Linked DNA regions of Homo sapiens: region 2 is linked to region 1. Evidence: promoter capture Hi-C in human tissues and cell types (Jung and others, 2019). All regions are on one chromosome and are shown on one strand. The core of a region is centred on a gene start or on the middle of the fragment in contact, and the rest is flanking DNA. Distances in the headings are between cores, read along the strand shown.

The links. The method cuts DNA at HindIII sites, captures the fragments that hold promoters and counts their contacts. A contact is called where the count stands out against the background at its distance.
Region 2: a contact is called between a fragment that was not itself captured here and the fragment with the promoter of P2RY13 in region 1, in 1 of the 25 tissues and cell types used here (hippocampus).

What each region holds. Positions count from the first base shown.
Region 1 is chr3:151,326,500-151,334,017 of GRCh38, reverse strand. P2RY13 (purinergic receptor P2Y13) reads left to right here and starts at 4,469. Exons shown (of 2, transcript NM_176894.3): 1 at 4,469-4,537; 2 at 5,011-7,518. The coding sequence starts at 4,490. The coding sequence ends at 6,027. The region is part of intron 16 of MED12L (mediator complex subunit 12L); the gene reads right to left. The HindIII fragment of the contact is 9,309 bases long and covers 1-7,518 here.
Region 2 is chr3:151,193,725-151,201,242 of GRCh38, reverse strand. All of the region lies in intron 16 of MED12L (mediator complex subunit 12L), which reads right to left. GPR171 (G protein-coupled receptor 171) reads left to right here. Exons shown (of 3, transcript NM_013308.4): 2 at 246-334; 3 at 1,804-3,411. The coding sequence starts at 1,857. The coding sequence ends at 2,816. Among named protein-coding and RNA genes, the nearest start is that of GPR171, 5.7 kb to the left of the region's middle. The HindIII fragment of the contact is 6,790 bases long and covers 1-5,910 here.

The DNA.
Region 1 (7,518 bases), core at 3,220-5,719:
GCAACCTCCGCCTCCCGGGTACAAGCAATTCTCTGCCTCAGCCTCCTGAGTAGCTGGGATTACGGGCACCTGCCACCATGCCTGGCTAATTTTCTTATTTTTAGTAGAGACGGGGTTTCACCATCTTGGCCAGGCTGGTCTTGAACTCCTGACCTCATGATCCACTCATCTTGGCCTCCTAAAGTGCTAGGATTACAGGTGTGAGCCACCATGCCTGGCCAAGAATCCCACTCTTAATTGAACAATAAATTGGTACAATCTTTCTGGAAAACTATTTGAAAATATTATTTAACATTTTGACAAATAACTTTTTCCTAGAAGGACTGAACCAATAATCCTTCTTCTAGGAAACTTCCTACAAACATGCTAGAAAAAATGCTCAAAAATATATGGACACATACATGCTCTATAGCATTGTTTTTAATAGAGAAAAACTATTATCGTAAACTAACTACATGCCCATCAGTCGCAGCTTAACTATGGTAAATTTATGTAGCATAACTGATTTTAAATTTGATTGGCATGTTGTTAGAGAAATGCAGATCAAAACCACAATGAGACATCATCTCACACCAGTTAAAATGGCTATTACTTAAAAGTCAAAAAATAACAGATACTGGTGAGGTTGTGGAGAGAAGGGAACACTTACACACTACTGGTGGGAAAGTAAATTAGTTCAGCCACTGTGGAAAGCAGTTTGGCTTTTCTCAAAGGACTTAAAACAGAATTACCGTTCAACCCAGCAATCCCATGACTGGGTATATACATAAAGGAATAGGCGTTATTCTATCATAGAGACACATGCATGTGTGTGTTCATCACAGCACTATTCACAAAAGCAAAGACACAGAAGCAACCTAAATTCTTATCATTGGTATACTGGATAAAGAAAATGTGGTACATATACACCATGAGATACTATGCAGCCACACAAAAGAAAGAGATCGTGTCCTTTGCAACAACATGGATGAAGCTGGAGGCCATTATTCTAAGCAAACTAACACAGGAACAGGAAACCAAACACCAGATGTTGTCACTTGTTAGTGGGAGCTAAACATTGAATTCATATGGACACAAAGAAGGAAACAACAAACACCAGGGCCTACATTGAGGGTAGTGGGTGGGAGGAGGGTAAGGACTGAAAAACTACCTATCCGGTACCATGCTTATCACCTGGGTGACAAAATAATCTGTACACCAAACCCCTACAAAACACAATTTACCTATGTAACAAACCTGCACATGTACCCCTGAACCTAAAATAAAGTTAAAAAAAAAATCACGTCAGTCTACATGTACTAACATGGAATGAAACAAAAATCCAATACATAAATAAATGTAAATATATTTGTACACATATATTGGTATGTATATGTATTAACTTTCACTTTCTACTATATATGTTTGTATTTCAATTTTTAAACATAGTGTGAAATATTAAATGTTCCAAATAGCAGTGAATTTATTGCCTATCTCTAGCTACATGTAGATATTTTCTACTATTGTTCTTACTCAGAAAAACAGATTGTTACATTAATAAAAAGTATAACTTATTTCAGCTTATTATTACCACTTTTAGTTTACCACTTTTAGTTACTCTTGTATGGAATTTTTAAAACAATTTCACATAATCTGAGAAAGTACCATGGTATACTTTGATGGGAAGTAAAAGTCTTTTCTAAGAGTATAGAAGTATAGGAGTTCCTACTTCAATTTTCATCCCAAATGAAAGCAAATACTTCCTCATCTTTTCACATATTATTTATATGGTACTGGGCCTTGGACTGTCAATTTTGATGCAACTGAGAAATCCCAAATAAGACTACAAATGGAAATAGTAGTTTATTCCTATCTGGCTAGAGACTGATTTCTGTGACTTTTCATTTTATCTTCTTTGTATCCCTTCTGATCACACTGCTTTCACTCAATTTACATTGGCATAAAGTTTCACAAGTCCATTAAACATTGTGGCTGATTGTTTCCTTCTCACACATCAGGAACTTTCAGCTCAAGAACTCCAGAATTTGGCAAACAATTCCACTGTCACCCTATCTATGGCTTAATCGGAGGCAAGAGAGTGAGGCAGGTTCCAAGCATGGGCTCTGGAACCAGACCAACTGTGTGACTTTACGGCAGATTTGGGTTGCATGATATGGGGAAAATGGCTTAACTTCTGCATTTCCTTTTTTCTCAACTCTAAAAATGGGACCAATCTCTGGGGATTGTTAAGGATTAAATAAGATAATATAATCACTTAAAACAGTATAGCTAGTGTGACTTTACTGATTTTTAACTACATTTCCTTAGAGCCCTATAGGATCTTAAATGTTTAGTTTATTCCCATTTGATAGGCTCCTAGCCTCTGGGATCTTTCACTGTATCTTCTTTGATTCTTCTCTCCTTTCGTGAGACATCACCATATGTATGCACAACATTCCAATTTTCTTTCAATTTCATTTAACAAGAAACCTACATGATACCTACCACATGACAGACATTATTCTAAGCACTGGTGAATGTTCACTCATTTTATTCTTTTAACAACACTGTAAAGCAAATACTATTATTTATTTTTATTGTAAAGATAAGGCAACCATTTCATAGTGGGCATAAGCAGCTTGCCTAAGGTCATAAGAAAAGAAAGAATTGGAAAAAGGAATTGAGCCCAGGCACTCTGGCGCCTAAACATTCTGCTGAGCAGCTTCTCAGCTGTGTCTTCAAGGGCAAAAGGCCTCCCCAGCAGGCAATAGTGCTGCTGTAAACTAAGGAAAAATCAGCTAATACATAAGAAGCACAAACACATAGAAATGAATGATCTATTGGATATTTACTATAGTCAAACACTTTGACATCTACCACATTTAAGAGACTCTATTTCCATAACTCTAGAAACAGGCACTGTAAGTCAGTTCCTCTTTGGAAAGTTTCCCACACTTCAGTGTTTTGAAATTTGACCAAGAAGTGATTTCCAGTTTTCAGATTATGAAATTATCCTGCACAGAATTTATCTTGCTTAAAGAAAAACTATTCCAGATCTTCCTTTAGATTATGGATTTGGGGCTATAGGAAAATTTACAATTAATTTTGTAGGTTAAATTTCTCTACTTAAGAAATAAAGGATTTTTTTTCCTCTGCTGAAGCAAACAAAAAGATATACATTTATGTTTAAGACATACATGTATGTTCTATTAATGAAATCTTGAATCTATACTCCCAAGGATTAATTTATTTCAGTCAAAGAGAAATTTTTCAAACTGTGCCGTTATTGGGTAGTCTAATCAAAACTATTAGACACTGTATTGCCTCATATTTTAAAATGTCCAGGGGGATATTAAGTTTTTCTTCTCAGAATTCAAAGCCAAGTCACCCAAAACTTTGTGATCAACTAACACTAGTCTCGTCTAACTCCATGGTAACACTTGTGGCAAGAAACATGAAATGAAACTCACCATGAACTCCACATCCTCCGTAAGATCTCCTAATTTCCGCTTTTCCTATGCCTACCTGGCAAGTAGATTTCTGCCATGGACAACAACTTTCTCTATGCAAAAGCACCATTACATCTTTCAAACTTGAAGAGAATTAAAGCAAAAAAAATGCACAGATATTGGCCCAATGTTGATTGATGAAATTCCTGAAGTCCTCTGCACTCGAAATACACCAAATACAAAAAAGATTTCTAAAAATGGCCCTCTACTAAGTGAAAGAGTATAATATCTCTATCTGGATTTGCAATTCATTCCCATGGCAATGGGACTAAAAGCCACTAAAAGTGGCTAACATTTTTTAGTGCCTCCTATATGTCAAGCACTATTCCAGGCAACCAATTCATTCTTAATAACACAGTGTGTTAGATACTATTTTCAAACCCATTACACAGATGAGGAAATTGAGACACAGAGCTGTTGAATCATTTATCTATAATCTAATCCCAATTAATTGGTGGAACTGGGATTCTAACTCCAAAAATCTGGATCTAATAGTCTTCACCTCTCAGAAAACATCATGTTAACTCTCAGAGATCCCCAAACCAGAAGACTAAGTCAAATACCTACAAAAATAAACATACCGTCTTCCTGAACACAAATTACTGGAAAATCCAGTTTACAAGGATACAGAAGATTATTCTGTCTGATTTTAGGTAGTCTTATTCTCCTACTTGATTGTAATTTGGGACTATTTTCTTCATCTTTCTACTTTCCACTATATACAAGAGGCACTCAAAAAGTTCACTGAACATGCAGATCAAGAAGATAAACTTCAAGAAAGTTATGAAGAAATTTAAAGATAATTGCAAATAAGCTTCTTTATTCAAGTCACAGATTAACAGTATGAAAGTTTGAACTAAAATAGAGTATTAGCAAATGTCCCAAAGGTCTAAATATGAAGAGGTTCTAATGGGTCACATTACATAAGTAAAAATAAGGAAGGAAATCCACTATAAGAAAGCAGAACATTTGCTTCACATGCTCATTTGTAGGCTGAACTAATGACTGCCGCCATAAGAAGACAGAGAGAACTGAGTATCCTCCCAAAGGTGAATTTCAATTTTTGTTATTATGAGTGTGCTTGCTTATATAAAAGAATATGCTTAAGGGAAAAAAGGTGCTTTAAAGTTAATATTCTACAAACCATAGTTTATGAGCATAAGAAATTACATAATTTACAGCAATCTGATGTATTAGTAATAATAATGTATTATTATCTCTTAAACAGTGTTTTGTTTTATGGCTAACAGTAGCACCTGTGAATGAGGCAGAACCTGTTATTTGGATTTCACAAGGATGTGAAAGTAATGGTACTGTTAAAAGTACCAAAAATGTATTATATGCTTTAAAAATTCTAGCCAGAAAACAGTATTTTCCTTTTCAACACATCTATTGAAAGTGTTGGATAAATGCAGGATGTTAATATGCTATAAACATAAAGTCTGTTTTTAAAAAATAGCATTTGAAAATCATGAAGGGCTTTTTGTTTTCTTTTGTTTGTATATATGTTTATTGGTAACAGGTGACACTGGAAGCAATGAACACCACAGTGATGCAAGGCTTCAACAGATCTGAGCGGTGCCCCAGAGACACTCGGATAGTACAGCTGGTATTCCCAGCCCTCTACACAGTGGTTTTCTTGACCGGCATCCTGCTGAATACTTTGGCTCTGTGGGTGTTTGTTCACATCCCCAGCTCCTCCACCTTCATCATCTACCTCAAAAACACTTTGGTGGCCGACTTGATAATGACACTCATGCTTCCTTTCAAAATCCTCTCTGACTCACACCTGGCACCCTGGCAGCTCAGAGCTTTTGTGTGTCGTTTTTCTTCGGTGATATTTTATGAGACCATGTATGTGGGCATCGTGCTGTTAGGGCTCATAGCCTTTGACAGATTCCTCAAGATCATCAGACCTTTGAGAAATATTTTTCTAAAAAAACCTGTTTTTGCAAAAACGGTCTCAATCTTCATCTGGTTCTTTTTGTTCTTCATCTCCCTGCCAAATACGATCTTGAGCAACAAGGAAGCAACACCATCGTCTGTGAAAAAGTGTGCTTCCTTAAAGGGGCCTCTGGGGCTGAAATGGCATCAAATGGTAAATAACATATGCCAGTTTATTTTCTGGACTGTTTTTATCCTAATGCTTGTGTTTTATGTGGTTATTGCAAAAAAAGTATATGATTCTTATAGAAAGTCCAAAAGTAAGGACAGAAAAAACAACAAAAAGCTGGAAGGCAAAGTATTTGTTGTCGTGGCTGTCTTCTTTGTGTGTTTTGCTCCATTTCATTTTGCCAGAGTTCCATATACTCACAGTCAAACCAACAATAAGACTGACTGTAGACTGCAAAATCAACTGTTTATTGCTAAAGAAACAACTCTCTTTTTGGCAGCAACTAACATTTGTATGGATCCCTTAATATACATATTCTTATGTAAAAAATTCACAGAAAAGCTACCATGTATGCAAGGGAGAAAGACCACAGCATCAAGCCAAGAAAATCATAGCAGTCAGACAGACAACATAACCTTAGGCTGACAACTGTACATAGGGTTAACTTCTATTTATTGATGAGACTTCCGTAGATAATGTGGAAATCAAATTTAACCAAGAAAAAAAGATTGGAACAAATGCTCTCTTACATTTTATTATCCTCGTGTACAGAAAAGATTATATAAAATTTAAATCCACATAGATCTATTCATAAGCTGAATGAACCATTACTAAGAGAATGCAACAGGATACAAATGGCCACTAGAGGTCATTATTTCTTTCTTTCTTTTTTTTTTTTTTTAATTTCAAGAGCATTTCACTTTAACATTTTGGAAAAGACTAAGGAGAAACGTATATCCCTACAAACCTCCCCTCCAAACACCTTCTCACATTCTTTTCCACAATTCACATAACACTACTGCTTTTGTGCCCCTTAAATGTAGATATGTGCTGAAAGAAAAAAAAAACGCCCAACTCTTGAAGTCCATTGCTGAAAACTGCAGCCAGGGGTTGAAAGGGATGCAGACTTGAAGAGTCTGAGGAACTGAAGTGGGTCAGCAAGACCTCTGAAATCCTGGGTAAAGGATTTTCTCCTTACAATTACAAACAGCCTCTTTCACATTACAATAATATACCATAGGAGGCACAAGCACCATTATTAAGCCACTTTGCTTACACCTTAAGTGTGTACAATTCAAGTGTGAGAATGCTGTGTTAACTATTCTTTGGAATTCTCCTTCTGTCCAGCAAATACTCTAATGATGGTTAAACATGGCACCTACTCAGCAATGCCTTCCTGGACCACAACCCCTATCCCCCTGCCCCACCCTCCTCATTAAAAACAAATACTTCTACTGTTTGGGTGTGTGATAGGGTTCTCAATGCAGATCTCCCTTTTCTAGTTAGCTATATTCTTGACTGCATCCGCTAAAAATGTTAAAGCTTCTTGAGAGACAGACATGCCAGATTTTCTTGGTATCTCCCATAATACGACCTACAGTCCATGGTCTACAGATGTTTTAAATAGAATTGCTATTCTCGATACATACAAAGACGTAATTGCTGACCCACAATCAGTAACATCCATATTGAGAGATTTTTCAAAGGATGGTGACCCTGCTTGTATTTATTTACCTTGGTATTTTTTCTTGCATCCTTCTGTGATTCAAAAAAGTAAAATGTGGCTTTCTGAAATGATGGATAAGAGTCTACATCTTCTAGAAAAAATACATAAAGGAGTAGTTAAGCTCTGTAAATGTGCCACGAGCTCCAACACGACCATCGTAGGGTGAAGCCCACGTTTTCTTCCATGGCCTCAAAGGCCCTAGAACTTGCCTACCTTTCTGGCCTTACCTCCTAGCTACTTATCCATCTCTTGAACTTTATACTCTTGTATAAATTTCTAACTTTCAGAAAATGCCATACTCTGTTTTGGCACCACACATGTATATTTCCCCCTGGTACACTTGGAAGACTCTTATCCATCTGTGAAACCCTATGTTGTCATCACTTGGTCCATGAAATATTACCTGGCCA
Region 2 (7,518 bases), core at 1,266-3,765, 130 kb after region 1:
GAGAGAGAGAGAGAGAGAGTGTGTGCACGTGGTTGTATGCATAGAACAGCAAAATATACGAAAAGCCTAAACTTATATTCTTAGTATTTTGGTAAAAAGTTAAAAATAGTTTATTTCAGCTTTATTACATAAAAATTGTTTAGAACATAGTTCCTGCCCACACAGTAAGCCCTTAGTAAAGACTGGCAGATATAATAATAATCATTATCATTTCTATCATCATCTTACTATTGTTACTGAGGCAGTGTTTTGGAGTGGTTTTGAATGTGATTCTGAGATCAGACTGACTGAGCTGGAATCCTGGCTTTATATCTTACCAGCTACACAACCTTGGGTAAGTAACCCCATTATGCCTCAATTTCCTCATCTGTAAAGCAGGGACAATAACAACACCTAGCTTATGGAAATGATAAGAAGTTAAATAAGTACATGTAAAGTATTTGGCATAGTGCCAGATACAAACCAACTGCTTAATTATTTTCATCGAGTTTGGTAAAGAATGACATTATTCATGGACTCTAACGTGCTAACTCAGGTAGGGAAAGAGAAAGGGCATGTAGCCTTTAAGCAGCACTTGAATTTAGAAAGCTTTGTGTACATCTGCCTTATTCATCTGTTTGCATACATTGTTTCATTACAAATGCACACAAAGGATCATTAATTAATTGGGGAAATTAAAATTTAGAAAGATGTCAGAAGTTTTATTCTCTTATTAAAAGGCACTTACAGAGTAGCTGATCTGGCCTTCAATGTTGGTCACTATAACTTATATTTGCTTCTTTTAAAAAGGTTGTATTATAATATAAAATGTTTCCTTGCTAAAATACAAAAATAATCTTCAGGTCTTTAAAACAAAAGAACACTGTTTAATGTGCAAAAGGGGGACCCACACCAACAGGCAGCACCAGAAAGATTACTAATGTACCCTTAGCTCTAAGCATGTGAGTTTGAATAGACCAGGTCAAAGGGAGCCCTATCAGTTTAACTTGAGCTTACAAACCCGCTCAATGTTCCAGATTTGGGAGGGACATGACAAGACTTCATTGTCATTATCAGTGGTGATCACAGTAGTTCTAAGGGTATGTCTTATGCTTCTGGGCTTTTAACTGCTTCAAAACCCACAATGAAAGAAAAAAAAAGCGACTCAAGTGTTGAAGTCAGATGTTTTGATACTAATATAAATAAATCTTTCTCCAAGGATTTTGTAACCAATGAACATACATCCATGTTCTGGTAGTTGTGGGTTTTTTTGTTTGTTTTTTTGGTTTTTTTCTGTTTGTTTTTGAGACAGACTCTTGCGACCAGGCTGGAGATTTTCCATCAACTCCTTACTTCCCCTGTCAGCCTGGGTTCTCCCAGCCTTAGGAGCCACATGAATCTATGGAAAACAAAAAACTAAAACAAGAAAAAAACCAGAAGGCCTCATTGAAAGCTCTTCATGCTCAACCACAACCCTAGTTTCCTCTCTCTACTTCTCAGAATCTCGGTTCACTTATCTCCTCTGCAAACTAACTTCCAACCCAACTGGTAACAAGAACTACCAGAATGGAAAAACCTGAGGTTGAAAATATCCCTACCAAAAGCAAACCTGCATGGGATTTCCTGAAAGTCACAAAATCAGACAATGGAAAACCCAGGCATCTTCACAATCTAGTATGTTCTCACCAGGCCATATGGTCTGGTAAGTTCACCAATAAAATTCTAAGAACTGGAAAGACAACGGTATTGTGAAGACCAATGTCTTTTAAAGAAAATAGTTGCTAATTTTAATTACTAACCTCCCTTTCCTTGTTTCTTTTACAGAGTCTTAGAAATTTTTTCTTTTCAATAAGCAGTCATCCTTACTTTCCCTCAAGATGACAAACAGTTCGTTCTTCTGCCCAGTTTATAAAGATCTGGAGCCATTCACGTATTTTTTTTATTTAGTTTTCCTTGTTGGAATTATTGGAAGTTGTTTTGCAACCTGGGCTTTTATACAGAAGAATACGAATCACAGGTGTGTGAGCATCTACTTAATTAATTTGCTTACAGCCGATTTCCTGCTTACTCTGGCATTACCAGTGAAAATTGTTGTTGACTTGGGTGTGGCACCTTGGAAGCTGAAGATATTCCACTGCCAAGTAACAGCCTGCCTCATCTATATCAATATGTATTTATCAATTATCTTCTTAGCATTTGTCAGCATTGACCGCTGTCTTCAGCTGACACACAGCTGCAAGATCTACCGAATACAAGAACCCGGATTTGCCAAAATGATATCAACCGTTGTGTGGCTAATGGTCCTTCTTATAATGGTGCCAAATATGATGATTCCCATCAAAGACATCAAGGAAAAGTCAAATGTGGGTTGTATGGAGTTTAAAAAGGAATTTGGAAGAAATTGGCATTTGCTGACAAATTTCATATGTGTAGCAATATTTTTAAATTTCTCAGCCATCATTTTAATATCCAATTGCCTTGTAATTCGACAGCTCTACAGAAACAAAGATAATGAAAATTACCCAAATGTGAAAAAGGCTCTCATCAACATACTTTTAGTGACCACGGGCTACATCATATGCTTTGTTCCTTACCACATTGTCCGAATCCCGTATACCCTCAGCCAGACAGAAGTCATAACTGATTGCTCAACCAGGATTTCACTCTTCAAAGCCAAAGAGGCTACACTGCTCCTGGCTGTGTCGAACCTGTGCTTTGATCCTATCCTGTACTATCACCTCTCAAAAGCATTCCGCTCAAAGGTCACTGAGACTTTTGCCTCACCTAAAGAGACCAAGGCTCAGAAAGAAAAATTAAGATGTGAAAATAATGCATAAAAGACAGGATTTTTTGTGCTACCAATTCTGGCCTTACTGGACCATAAAGTTAATTATAGCTTTGAAAGATAAAAAAAAAAAAAACAAAAAAAAACTCAGTATGAAAAAATACAGTTAGCTAGCAAATATGGACAGGTTTACTTAGAAATCCTGTTTCTAAATGCAAGTCAAGCTTTATTGTTAGGCTTGCTGCTACTCATTAACCCAAATATTTGTACAAAAAACTAAAGAGTCTCATTGAACGAATGTAAAATCCTGCAATATCCTTGAAATCCAAAAGAGGTCCATGACATAGACCCAAAGGTATTCATGAGTTATTCATTTAAATGCCTGGAACTGACTTCTTGATAAAAATATAAAAAATAATTTCCATGTAAGTTACCAGAAAGCCCACCAGCAACATAATTTTAAAGCCTTTCAGATTACTTTTAAAAAATGCAGCTTACATATAACAACTTGTGCCTATTTTATTTCTAATCTATCACTTCAAAAGATGGTAATCTTTCAACTCATTATTCCTCCAATTTTTAATGTCGAATTTTTTTCTAACACAATAACCAAAAGCTTTTATTTATAAAAAGGCTTGAAAAATATAGACAATCTTTAATGTATTATTTGTAATTATATTCTACCTGTAGGTTATAATAAAGGCTTCCTGATGTTAGTAATAATACATTTAGTGACTTCTCATTTCTATTTTGAAGTAACATGAAACACAGAGGCCCTGTAACATTTCAGAGGGAGTTGTTAAGTTATACTAACTACTGAAACTAGTGTTTTGGAACTAGAAAATCACATCGATAGCACATCAATGGTAAAACAGCACCAGTCAGATGGTCTTTATAAAACAGATACACTGACTTCGCATAGCAAGGCCGTGTTAGGAATGTAGCACAGGCCGAGCTACTCAGTGCCACCCAGGTCCAGAAAGATGAGCCTGACTCCACGTAGGGCCCCAGTTTAAAGTATAGGTGACTCCAGCCGGGCGTGGTGGCTCACACACTTTGGGAGGCTGAGGTGGGCAGATCTCAGGTCAAGGGTTAGAGATTAGCCTGGCCCACATGATGAAACCCCCTCTGTACTAAAAATACAAAATTTAGCCTGCTGTGATAGTGCACGCCTGTAATCTCAGCGACTTAGGAGGCTGAGGCAGGAGAATCATTTGAACCTGGGAGGCAGAGGTTGCAGTGAGCTGAGACTGCGCCACTGCACTCCGGCCTGGGCAAAAAGAGCGAGACTCTGTCTCAAATAAATAAGTAAATAAATAAATAACAATAAAGTATAAGCTGACTCCAGCTCTCAGAGTCACAACTCTGATCAAATTCTCTCCACTGCTGGTGATGCAGAAAGAATACACAGCATTAAATAAAAGACTTATTAGGAAAAAGAATATTGGAAAAATTTAGATAAGCATACATGATGACTTTGTGTTTTTTATTTCATTAGTAAAATAAGCCCATATAAAAACCGCTGGTAAATCCATTTGCATTAGCTGCAATGATTAAGAAATGGTGTTCCTGAAAGCTAGGAAAACAAGTTTGATTCCAAACTCATTTTTGCATTTCACAAATTATTTTCTAAAGCTTGAAAATCCTATCTACAATTCCATAAAAATATTCTGACTCTGCAGTGAATAATAAATGAGAAAATGCATGAAGTGCCTATTACAAAACATACAACAAGATAATGCTATACAATTCTAGCTAGCTAATGGTAATGACAGAAACTCCAGCAGCCTCACACATCTGACACAGTGTAAATGACTTACCTCAGTTGCAGGCTGTAGAATGCCTATCCACTAGAACCTGTGTTTGCTGGTAGTCTAGGAAACATGGTTCACTAATGGGCAGATCAAGTATTATTCACAGAATAGCATCATGAAACTGTTTTTCTGAATCTTTGGTCAAGCCCCCTTTAGTCCTCTTCTCTTTGGTCTTCATTTAGTAGGGCCCCATATGACAGATGGGGACATGGAAAACACTTTTCTTAACCATATTTTTATAGTCTCCTCACATGCAATGAGAAGCTAGTCAGATTTTCTCTTTTTATTAAGGGAAAAAAAACAGACAGTAGCATTCCTAAAGTCAGTGTTATATTAGCATATCCTTTGGCTTCTTCTGAATTGAACTCATGGTAACAGGGAGTTTAGGGCAACCAGTGGTGGAAGGCTATTAAAAAATGTATCCTACAATATCAATTGTCTAGCAGTTCTTTCATGAATTGTTATAGTTAAATTATCTCATGATTCATTATGACATGTGGTCACTGAAAATCATTTAAGCTCTTTCTTCCAAGGAAGTAGAATGTTAAATGCAGGGAAAGGCTGTAAAACCAAGGTCACAGGAACAACAGAATAAAGAAGCTGAGGCTTAGTGTCCAGCTCTGACACCCAGACACCTGGGAGAGAGACATGCAAAGCTCTGTTTACCCAAGAAAGGAACACATAACCCTCAACCATTCAACCAGTTTCAAACACTTTCAACATTTTGCCATCTTTGCTTAATTTATCACCCCCCTTAATTCTTTCTTTTAAATAAACTTTTTATTAGAGTAATTTCCGATTTACAGAGAAGTTGCAAAATAGTACAGAGAGTTCCATATGCCATTCAGCCAGTTTTCTCTAATGTAAATGACTTAAGAGAACCACAGTACATTTGGTGAAACTAAGAAGTTAACATTGGTATATTACTATTAAATAAACTCCGGACGTTAATATTGTCTCCCTTTTTTACCCAGAATATTTTAAAAACAAATCCCAGACATCATGATAGCTCATCTATAAATTCTTCAGGATACATCTCTAAAATATAAGGCTACTCTTTCTGCTCCCCTAAATAAACTGTGAGATTATTCCATTATATTATAAATGAATAATGTCTATAGGTAACAGTAGAAAAGCATAGATATTATTCAGGCAGTGATAGATAAGAACAAACTTTGGCAAGTTTTGACATATCCCTGGACATAGAAAAATTAACAAAAAATGGATTAATTGTAATAAGGAAAAAAATATGGGTTTGATAATTTGACAAGTTTTGAAATGGCCCTGGACATAGAAAAATTACAAAAAAAGAGACTTTTAACTGTAATAAGAAAAAAATAAATGGGTTTGGTAATTTTGAAAGTCATTTCAGGAGATATTCCAAAATACCAAAATAAATAAATAAATAAATAACTTAACAGAATACTTTGTTTTGCTGATAAAAACTCCTAGAAGATACCCAGAAAGTAACGTAATACATCTACAATTACTTTTTCTATTTTGAGACAGAGTCTCCCTCTGTCGCCCAGGCTGGAGTGCAGTGGTGTGATCTCGGCTCACTGCAAGGTCCACCTCTGGGGTTCACGCCATTCTCCTGCCTCAGCCTCCTGAGAAGCTGCGACTACAGGCGCCCGCCACCAGGCCTGCTAATTTTTTGTATTTTTAGTAGATACGGGGTTTCACCATGTTAGCCAGGATGGTCTCGATCTCCTGACCTCGTGATCCGCCCACCTCGGCCTCCCAAAGTGCTGGGATTACAGGCATGAGCCACCGCGCCCGGCCCAATTATGCTTTTTATATGTAAAAGTAACACCCAATGAAAAAAATGACTCCCTGAAATTGTACTTAAAATAAAAATCCAGAAAAAAAGTTAGTGAAGCCAAGAATAAACTTTTTATTTCAAATTTTGACCCAATTTTTATTTCTAATATTAAGAAACCAATTTTGTTACACTTTAGAATAAAGCACATCACTTTGCTAAGAGTCAAATGGTAAATTTCCTGCCAAGCATTTCCCATTTGCTATACAATTCTTAAATTCAACCAGTCCAAATCTGAGCCTATCTTGTACAAGCCTCTATGAAGTCTTACCCAATTTTTCAACTAAAATACTCTTGTTCTCTCCAATACTCATTCTTTGAGAGTGGAAGGGGCCCAGAAATGTCAACTGGCTCACCTTCCAGTAAGAATTTGTGTTTTTACTCAATTATTGCATGTATTTGAGGGCTTGCCATTTATAGATGTTTGTCTCCTGTCTTTCCTATGCCTCAAAATTCTTGCTGACATTTGTCTCCCGTCTTTCCTATGCCTCAAAACTCTTACTGACTAGAAGTACCTACCATAATACAGTGCACATAAAAGCTACTCAGCAAATTTACTTTCAAATTAGAACACATTTACGCCTGGCACGGTGGCTCACGCCTGTAATCCCAGCACTCTGAGAGGCCTAGGCGGACGGATCACCTGAGGTCAGGAGTTCGAGACCAGCCTGCCCAAAATGGTGAAAACCTGTCTCTACTAAAAAGACAAAAAATTAGCCAGGCGTGGTGGCAGGTGCCTGTAATCCCAGCTACTCGGGAGGCTGAGGCAAAAGAATCACTTGAACCTGGGAGGCAGAGGTTGTGGTGAGTCAAGATCGTGCCACTGTACTCCAGCCTGGGCAACAGGAATGAAACTCCGTCTCAAAAAAAAAAAAAAAAAGAAAAGAAAAAAAACACATTTAGACATCACCTGCAGTGACTCAAATGCTCTTTAATAAAAGGATACTAACATAGAAAATTTCATTTTCTAAATCTAATTAGCCACTAATATCACTACAAATTCGGACAACCTCAGTACATAAGCTTAAGATCAGAATTAGAACAGAAGCAGGAGCAAATGCAAAAAACTCACCTGCTATCATTATTAGTCAAGAATACAGTTGAATAATCTGACGTTCAAC